Regions from separate parts of the Homo sapiens genome. Here region 2 is linked to region 1. The links are contacts of gene promoters, found by promoter capture Hi-C in human tissues and cell types (Jung and others, 2019). All regions are on one chromosome and are shown on one strand. The core of a region is centred on a gene start or on the middle of the fragment in contact, and the rest is flanking DNA. Distances in the headings are between cores, read along the strand shown.

Evidence for each region. The method cuts DNA at HindIII sites, captures the fragments that hold promoters and counts their contacts. A contact is called where the count stands out against the background at its distance.
Region 2: a contact is called between a fragment that was not itself captured here and the fragment with the promoter of COL7A1 in region 1, in 1 of the 25 tissues and cell types used here (lymphoblastoid cells).

What each region holds. Positions count from the first base shown.
Region 1 is chr3:48,593,908-48,598,725 of GRCh38, reverse strand. It overlaps COL7A1 (collagen type VII alpha 1 chain), which reads left to right and starts at 3,397. Exons shown (of 119, transcript NM_000094.4): 1 at 3,397-3,458; 2 at 3,566-3,651; 3 at 4,178-4,358. The coding sequence starts at 3,567. The HindIII fragment of the contact is 15,548 bases long and covers 1-4,818 here.
Region 2 is chr3:47,199,638-47,204,455 of GRCh38, reverse strand. All of the region lies in intron 2 of KIF9-AS1 (KIF9 antisense RNA 1), which reads right to left. Among named protein-coding and RNA genes, the nearest start is that of KIF9-AS1, 38 kb to the right of the region's middle. The HindIII fragment of the contact is 8,939 bases long and covers 1-4,818 here.

The DNA.
Region 1 (4,818 bases), core at 2,148-4,647:
CAGCCTTTGCCCCTGTAGGAGTCCCAGCCTGGAATCCCTGCAGGCTCAGGTGGGAAACCCCTCACTGTGGACCTTGTGCCAAGTCACCCCCTGGTGGTCCCTGGTGGACCAGAAGGGGCCAAGGGGTGTCTCCAAGGATGCCTCTTGTGTGTGTTTACTCTGCATTCTGGGAGGAGGATAGCCTGGGGCATAGTGTTCTCATTTGGTTTCTAACTGCTGCCTGGACAAGCAGGGCAGGAATCCTTTGCCTCCGCTGACTCAGGCTCCAAGAATAGCCCTGAGCTCAGTGGGGCCCGAGCCCCCTCCCTCTACTACATTTGTCCCAGGCAAGTCCAGAGCTGCTGGCCTGACAATCCCCTCCCCATTTTCCTGAGGCAGCCAGGACCTGGTACAGCTCTTAGCTACCTAGTCCCTCTGTTATCTCTTTTGGCTCTGGTCCCCATGGTGGGTGCGCAGGTAGGCTGCTCCTCCTGCACCCCCCAGTGCTTCCACAGTCAGGTTCTCTGGGATCCCAGGGGGAAGTTGAAAGCGAGGGGCCCAATTTTCCTTTGAGGAAGTCGCTGCCTGGCAGTCACAAGCAGGGTGCTGGGACAAGGTCTTTTAGAAGATGGCTGTTCAGAAGTCCCCCCAGCATCGTAGCTTGGAAGTAGCCCAAGGAACCCTTGTATCACTATCACCCTGCCCCACTGCCTTTCCCTCACCATTGGTTGCCATACGTTGCCAATTCGGAGACATTTGTTAAGCACCTTCTACGGCCCGGGACTGGGGCATTGCGCAGATCATTCTACTTTGTGAACGGCTGGAGAGAAGATGCTGGGCAGCGCAGAACCCTGACAGGCCCAACCCTGGGTGCTCATGGAGGTGCAACACCCAGGCAGGGGAACAAGTGCCAAGTCTGTTGTCAAGTTTGAGCTCCTGGAGGATGGGGCTTCATTTCTAAGCCCAGCCTGGCCCTTAGAGGCTACAGGTGTGCTGGACACGAGAGCTTGAGTTGCTGGGAGTGGTCTGGTTCTAAGGGACCTTGCGTACCAAGCCAGGGACTCTGGTCTTTACCCTGGAGCCATGCTGGGGAGGTGTGTTGGAGGTTACTGTGAAGAGAAGTGACTTGGTCAGAGTTGAGATTCAGCATGGGGACTCTCAGGCCATATTTCTGTATCAGTCTTGGTGAGCTGTGCTGTGGCAGAACAGAGGTCATGGCCACACGAACTGGAGCCAGCTGTAGGGGACACAAAGAGGACTACATTCCCAGCAGGGCTGGGAGACGCGGAGGCACGAGTGGGTTGGAGGAGGGTAATCTTCCATAGTCCAGTGAGGAGTTTGGTGGTGTCCAGGGTACAGTGGGATGTGTGGGGCTGGGACCTGATAAAGAGGCCCTGGTTGGAAACAGATGGGGTGAGGTAGTGACTGAGGCCAGGGAAGGAAATGTTCAGGGAAAGCTTGGGAGGGAGAAGGATGTGCTCTGGGGGCTCCACCGCCCTGATGGGGTTGCAGGTAGGCACTGGCCTCGGGCTGTGCCCTAGGCTGTGTTCCTCCCAGGAGGCCAGAGCTGGGGCTTCAGAGGGCCACACTCCTGCTCGTGAGTCTCATAGAAGCTCCAGACGTGGAGTCATTCCAACCTTACTCCTACCTTCTCAACAGCCTCTCCCAGCACCCTTTGAGAGACCCTCTCACAGCAGCCTGTCCTTTCTTTTGGAGGCACCTCAATTCTGATGAGGTTTGCCTGAGCACCCACCCTCCCAGCTGGGCCTCCTGTCTCCCCTAAGACTGGCCCACGTGTGCACATATGTCTGTACCGTACTGTCCATGCCACTGGCCTGCTCTTGCCCGCCCTGGCTGCACGGGAGGAGGTGACAGTCTTAGGGGGAAGGGGCTGCCTGTGTGATAACATACCTGGTTCTCTGCAGCCCCCCACCTGGAGCACACCTTGCAGGGATGGGGGGTCCTGGGACATGGCTGAGGAGACCCTGACCTTGGAATAAGGTCATAGCACTATGCCCCAGGATAGTTTGGGGGGTCAGTAATAAGGGATAGAGCCCCAGCCTTCCTTGGGCAATAGGAAAGCAGGCAGCATGGATGGTCTTCACTGCCTCCAGCTCTGGCCACACCAGAGTCCTCGGGCTGTGGAGGAGTCCAGCCAGTGCTGTCCCCATATCTCCCTGTGGATCCCAGGGGAGGCTGTGGGGCCGGGCATATTAGAAGGGGCCCAGCAGCCTTGGTGAGTATAGATGTGCTTTCTGGGCTGCCCAGAGTTATTCAGGATTAGCAGGAAAAAAAGGGGGAGCAGGACCCAGATGGGGGCCTGCCCTTCTTAGCAGTGCCTCTCTGCCTTAGTGTCACCCATCTAATGGAGAGATATGCATATACAGAGCCCCACCTCCTTCGGACAGTGGCCCTGGCGTGGTGTGTGTTGGAGGACTGTCCACAGCCTCAGAAGCGAAGCTGGGGGAGGGTGTGAAGTCAGCCTGGGTAAGGGGACAGGAGTAAGGTAGGGGGCAGTTATGAAGCTGGAAGCTACAGGTACCATGAGGGCAGTGAGGAAAGGAGGAAGGGGCCCAAGGGGACCTCGGCCTGGTAGGGGAGATGGGTGGCAGGGACCTACAAGAAAAGTAGATGGAAGGAGAGGATGCCTGTGGGTGAGGACATGTAGGTAGGGGGACCTGGCCTGGGGCATGGAGGGCTCGATTCCTGAGAGATGAGCTGTCACTGTGGGTGGTCCCGCCCTCCACAGATGGGCGGCCCCCTCCCTGCAGGCACAGCTGGATTGCATCTGCCTGTGACATGGTAGGGGATGTGGGACACTGGGATGTATGCATAAGCATGACACAGGTTCTCTCCTCCTTCCGGCTTATCCCCTACAAAGAGGGGGTGAGTTACTTGGATCCAGGCCAAGGGGACCTTGGTTTCCCTAAGACCGGCCCAGAGTCACTCATTTGCCAGGGCTTCTTGCCTGTCAAGGAGATCCGGGTGGGGCCCAGGAGGCCCACCAGACAGATGGCTGAATCACAGGAGTGGCCGGCGGGACCCATGGCCTGAGGGCTTGTCTGGGCACCCCCACTGGATTGGGGGTGAGTCATCCCCAACTGCAGCCCCACCCCCCACGGCGCTGCTGCCTTGTGGCTCTGCAGGAACCTGTCCACTCCTCAGCCTGGTCACTGTGATTGACCTAAAGCAGCCAAGACCTGTGACCTTAGATGGAGTTAGGGGTACTCCCTCAGCATCTGCCCATGCAGAACCTTCTGGGAAATTCCCAGAAGCCACGGGGGGTCGGGGGGTTTATAGTTAAGTGCGTCATATCGTTTGTCTGGGGGAGGGGTGGGGGGGGCGGCGACCTCTCAGGGATATGGGTGAGGGCGGGTGCCTGGGTTCCCGCCTGCCGCTCCGCCCCCCGAGATCAGGGACTTTTCTCTGCTCTGCCCGAGAGACTGCAGCGGCGGCGGCGGGAGCGGGCGGACGCGCAGGCAAGACCAGGACTCGGGCTGGAGGGGCGCTGGGCTCGGACCTGCCAAGGCCACGGGGGAGCAAGGGACAGAGGCGGGGGTCCTAGCTGACGGCTTTTACTGCCTAGGATGACGCTGCGGCTTCTGGTGGCCGCGCTCTGCGCCGGGATCCTGGCAGAGGCGCCCCGAGTGCGAGCCCAGCACAGGGAGAGAGGTGGGCACCGCAAGGGAGGACCCGGCCCGGGGCACTGCACCGTGCCACCCTCCGCTCCACTCGGCCTTCATCCCCAACACCCCCCGCCCACAACCCAGCCAACTCCACGACGCCCCGCGGATTCCTCCTAATTCTGGGACTCCCCGAACCCTCCGCGATCGGTGCTGGGTTCCCTAAACCGCCTCCTATCCTGTTCCTACCCAAATTCTGGCTCCCTGGATGCGTGCGGGGTCCCCTGCCTTATGCCAATCCACGCCGGCCCCTAGAGGCTGACCTCAGTCCCAAGTCCACACCCGTGCTGGCGACTCTCCCTCCCCCGCACACCCCCAACCCTCCGCGGGAGTCTGCTCTGGGACCCACCGAGCTCAACTCCCTCCAAGGCCCTCAGGCTCAGGCCGATTCGGCCCTGGTTTGCATAAGATGAGGCCTACTCTCCCCACCATCCCAAGTCCCAGTGAGGCCACCGTGCGGGTAGGCGGGTGGTTGGCCTCCCAGAAGAGGCCCTGATCTCTCCTGCCCGCCCCAGTGACCTGCACGCGCCTTTACGCCGCTGACATTGTGTTCTTACTGGATGGCTCCTCATCCATTGGCCGCAGCAATTTCCGCGAGGTCCGCAGCTTTCTCGAAGGGCTGGTGCTGCCTTTCTCTGGAGCAGCCAGTGCACAGGGTGTGCGCTTTGCCACAGTGCAGTACAGCGATGACCCACGGTGAGTAGGGGCCCTGGGGGCTGGGGACCACGAGATCCCCACCAAGACTCCTTCCCCAGAGAGGGAGGAGACCCTGGAAACCCCAGGCCAGGTCTTTGCAGAAACAAGTTTTGGGGAACCTAGAGACCCCCTAGCCAGGACCTCCTTTGGAGACAGAGGTAAGGATTCCCTAGGTAGAACCTTCGTGCCCTGAGGCACCTCCAGGCTACTGCAAGACAGGAAGGTGCAAGACAGTGAGGCTGTGTTTTCTGATCTGGAGATGGGGAGCCCAGGAGGGGGCCCCCACGCCTGTTGGATTCTCCACGTTCTAGCCCTCTAACCCTTGCAGCCGTTCACCAGAGGTGCTCCATCTGGCCAGCATCCACTTTCCTACATCTGGACCCCTCCTCCTGCAATTATTTAATTAAGCAGCATCTTGTTCCCCACAGACTGTGAGCCCCTAAGGGCTCCTTCAGGTCTG
Region 2 (4,818 bases), core at 685-3,184, 1.4 Mb after region 1:
ACAAAAATTACCCAGGCATGGTGGCATGCACCTGTGGTCCCAGCTACTTGGAAGGCTTAAGTGGGAAAATTACTTGAGCCCAGGAGCTTGAGGCTGCAGTAAGCTGTGATCATGTTACTGCATTGCTGCCTGAGCAACAAGCCAGACCCTGTCTCAAAAATAAAATAAAAACAACAACAAAACCCACAAAAAACCTACACAGATAATACAGAAATTATTATTATTGTTATTATTATTATTATTTTGAAATGGAGTCTCTCTCTCTCTCTCTGTTGCCCAGGCTGGAGTGCAGTGGCATGATCTCAGCTCACTGCAACCTTTGCCTCCTGGGGCTCAAGGGATCCTCCCACCTCAGCCTCCTGAGTAGCTGGGACTACAGGCACACACCACCATGCTTGGCTAATTTTTGTATTCTTTGTAGAGACAGGGTCTCCCTATGCTGCCCAGGCTGGTCTCCAATTCCCAGACTCAAGGGATCCTCCTGCTTCAGTCTCCCAAAGTTCTGGGATTACAGACGTGAGCCACAGTGCCCAGCCTAGAAGTTATTTTTGTTGTTTTTGTTTGTTTGTTTTTTGAGACGGAGTCTCACTCTGTCATCCAGGCTGGAGTACAGTGGCACGATCTCGGCTCACCACAATCTCCGTCTCCTGGGTTCAAGTGATTTGCCTGCCTCAGCCTCCCGAGTAACTGGAATTACAGGTGCACTCCACGACACTTGGTAATTTTTTATATTTTTGGTAGAGACGGGGTTTCACCATGTTGACCAGGCTGGTCTCAAACTCCTGACCTCAAGTGATCCGCCCACCTCGGCCTCCCAAAGTGCTGCGATTACAGGTGTGAGCCACCCCACCAGCCTAGAAGTTATTTTGATAAAATGCAGAATATTTGGTTTTGAGGCCAGTTACCAAAATGGTAAAGAAAAACCTCTTGTAGTGCAATTGTATGGGAATTGCCCTACTAAATGGGAAGCCCATTTAGATAACCTGGAAGTCAAACTTAACATTAAAAAAAAAAAAAAAAAAAAAAAGAGGGTGGGCCTGGCGTAGTGGCTTACGCCTGTAATCCCAGCTGTTAGGGAGGCCGAGGCTGGCAGATCACCTGAGGTCAGGAGTTTGAGACCAGCCTGGCCAACAGGGTGAAACCCATCTCTACTAAAAATACAAAAATTAGTCGGGCGTGGTGGTGGGTGCCTGTGATCCCAGCTACTCCGGAGGCTAAGGCAGGAGAATTGCTTGATCCCAGGAGGCAGAGGTTGCAGTGAGCCGAGATGGCACCATTGCACTCCAGCCTGGGCAACAAGAGCGAGACTTTGTCAAAAAAAAAAAAAAAAAAAAAAAAGAGGGTGCTCACATTAATCAGACCCAGGATGAGTGTGTCTAGGGTTATAAATGTATATTAAATCATAAAGGAATGTAAATAAGAAAACTAGTATCTTGAGCAGTGGGATATATGGCTCTTAGTAACAGCATGGGAAGTTTTTTGGTTATGTGGAACAATTTAGATATATCAAGAAAAGCCTAGAACACAGAATCAAGTTATACTGGAGGAAAACATTGCCTATTTAGACCTTCAAGACAAATGTTTTAGTATTAGCCATCACAGTAGGGGTAGAAAAAGTTACACAAAAAGTTCACAAAAAGGTTGAAGGAGAGAGTTAACTCAGCTAAGCAAAAAGATATACCTTTTTATGGAAAAAAGGAACAGAAGACAATGATGTATGTAACCTGTCAATCATATGTAGTGAGGCATAGAAAAAGCTGAATTTTTTAGATATAAATCTGGTAAGTTTTAAACAGAAACAGATTTTTTTTTTCTTTTGAGACAGGGTCTCACTCCGTCATCCAGGTTACGTGTTGAAATCACTGCTTACTGCAGCCTTCACCTCACTGCAGCCTCGACCTCCTGGGGCTCAAGCAATCCTCCCATCTCAGCCTCCCAAGTACCTGAGACCACAGGTGTGTGCCACCACGCCTAGCTATTTTTTCTTTTGCTTTTCTTTTTTTTTGGGAAACAACAACAACAACAACAAAAGCCACCATGTTACCCAGGCTAGTCTTGAACTCCTGAGCTCAAGCAATCCTCCTGCCTCAGCCTCTCAAAGTGCTTAGGTTATAGACGTGAACCACCGCGCCTGGCATCATTTTGTTTCTTATTGTCAGTTTAGAAAAATTTGTTGGATCTGAATATCAGCAGTTTTGTGTTTTGTAGTTGTTCTGTTTGTTCTTTTTGTTCCAAATTTAATTAATATTTTAACCTATTGAGAGAAAGAAATATGCACATTGTGAAATTCTAAAACTCTCTGCCTAAGAGATGTATGGGAGCCAAGGGAACCAGTAGAAAGGGATGCGTTCATATCACAGGGATCGAAGGAGGAGGAGCAGTTGGAGGCAAAAGGGAGAAAACCTCCAAAGTCTTTTTCAATTTAGAAATAGTTTTCTTTATTTTTCTTTTTTGTTTGCCTCAGTTTCATCATCTGTAAGAAATAATTTTAAATATATTTACCTTTTGAATGGGGCAAATTTTTTTTTAGAATGTATCTTAAAAGCTTTTAGGTGTTATTGGAATTAAGTCTCCCATTCTATTTGGTTCTATAACCAGCTTTTCTAATTATGCGTGCAAATAAATTATTTTAGGCACATTCAAAAGATCCCCATTTTGGCCATTGCTGTTTTATAACCAATCTGGGTTAGGTAAGTAGAAGGACCCATAAACATTATTCATAAAACCTAGCTGGCGCATCTTCAGTTTTAGAGGACCCCTTTTCCATCCTGGTTGTTTTGAATGAAACAAGCTATGTAGTGGAGCAAGAGCACGCTCATGCAATTGAAAAAGGAGGAAGCTAAGGAAAAGTTGTCTCACACCAAAACCCCAGTGAGACAATTTACAGAGGTCCCATTTTATCCTAGCCTAGAATTCAACAGAAACTCTTGCCTTGAATTCACAGCAGTAACTCTGATTCTGAGAGAGTCATTGTACCTCCTAGCCAAGGAGGAAACTAGCTTCAATAAACCAGGACCTCAACTAATTAGCCAGGCATGGTGGTATGCACCTGTGGTCCCCAGCTACACAGGAGACTAAGGAAGAAGGATCTCTGGAGCCTAGGAGGCAGAGGTTGCAGTGAGCTGAGATCACACCATTGCACTCCAGCCTGGACAGCATAGTGAAACCCTGTCTGAAAACAAAACAAAACAAACAGAACTTTGACGAAGACACGAAGTTCATTGAATTTTTTTTTTTTTTTTTTTGGAAACAGGATCTTGCCCTGTTGCTCAGACTGGAATACAGTGGCTCCATCACAGCTCATGGCAGCCTTGACCTTCCGGCCTCAAGAGATCCTCCCAAGTAGCTGGGACTAGAGGCCCATGCCACTAAACTCAGCTTTTTTTTTTTTTTTAGACGGAGTCTCGCTCTGTCCCCAGGCTGGAGTGCAGTGGTGCGGTCTTGGCTCACTGCAACCTCCGCCTCCTGGGTTCAAGCAATTCTCCTGCTTCAGCCTCCCGAGTAGCTGGGATTACAGGCACGCACCACCATGCCCCGCTAATTTTTGTATTTTTAGTAGAGATGGGGTTTCGCCATGTTGGCCAGGCTGGTCTTGAACTCCTGACCTCATGATCCGCCCGCCTCAGCCTCCCAAAGTGTTGGGATTACAGACGTGAGCCACTGTGCCTGGCCCCACTCAGCTAATTTTTGTACGTTTTGTAGAGACGGAGTTTCACTATGTTGCCCAGGCTGGTCTTGAACTGCTGGGGTCAAGTGAGCTGACTGCCTCAGCCTCCCAAAGTGCTGGAATTACAAGCATGAGCCACTGTGCCCAGCCTGATTTTGGTAGAAACTCACCTGTAGCCCAGCAGGGCATCCAAGTTCGGGAACACAGTGGATTTGTTGCCCGTACATGCACAAAGGCTGGAAGCTGCTTTTGGTCTAGGGAGGTCACTCTGAAATCCTGCCACCTATGTCATTTTGCCAACCAAAATTAAGGTTGCTGAGGCAGAAATAATTTGATAAAGGTTATTGGAAGCCAAATGTGAGGATAAACCTAGGAAGATAAATAAACAAAGTTGGACGTGTTCTAAACTGTTATAAATTGGAATGGGTTTTTTTGTTTTATTTTGAAACAGTCTCTATCGCTGAGGCTGGAGTGCAGTGGTGCGATCTTGGCTCACTGCAACCTCCACCTCCTGGATTCAAGTGATTCTCCTGCCTCAGCCTCCTGAGTAGCTGGGATTATAGGCTCCCACCACCACGCCAGGCTAATTGTTTTGTATTCTTAGTAGAGACGGGGTTTCACCATGTTGGCCAGGCTAGTCTCAAACTCCTGACCTCAAGTGATCCACCTGCCTTGGCCTCCCAAAGTGCTAGGATTACAGAGGTGAGCCACCACGCCTGGCCTGGAATTTTTTTTTTTTTTTTTTTTTGAGAAGGAATTTCCCTCTGTCGCTCAGGCTGGAGTGCAGTGCAGTGGCGCCATCTCGGCTCACTGCAAGCTCCACCTCCCGGGTTCACGCCATTCTCTTGCCTCAGCCTCCCGAGTAGCTAGGACTACAGGCGCAAGCCAGACACTACGCCTGGCTAATTTTTTTTGTATTTTCAGTAGAGACGGGGTTTCGCTGTGTTAGCCAGGATGGTCTTGATATCCTGACCTCGTGATCCGCCCGCCTAGGCCTCCCAAAGTGCCTGGCCTGGAATGTTTTTATAAGAAATTTTAGGAGAAGCGATGGGGACTCCATATCAGAGCCCCCTCTCTCTCTCTTTTTTTTTTTTGAGACGGAGTTTCGCTCTTGTCACTCAGGCTGGAGTGCAATGGCACTATCTCGGCTC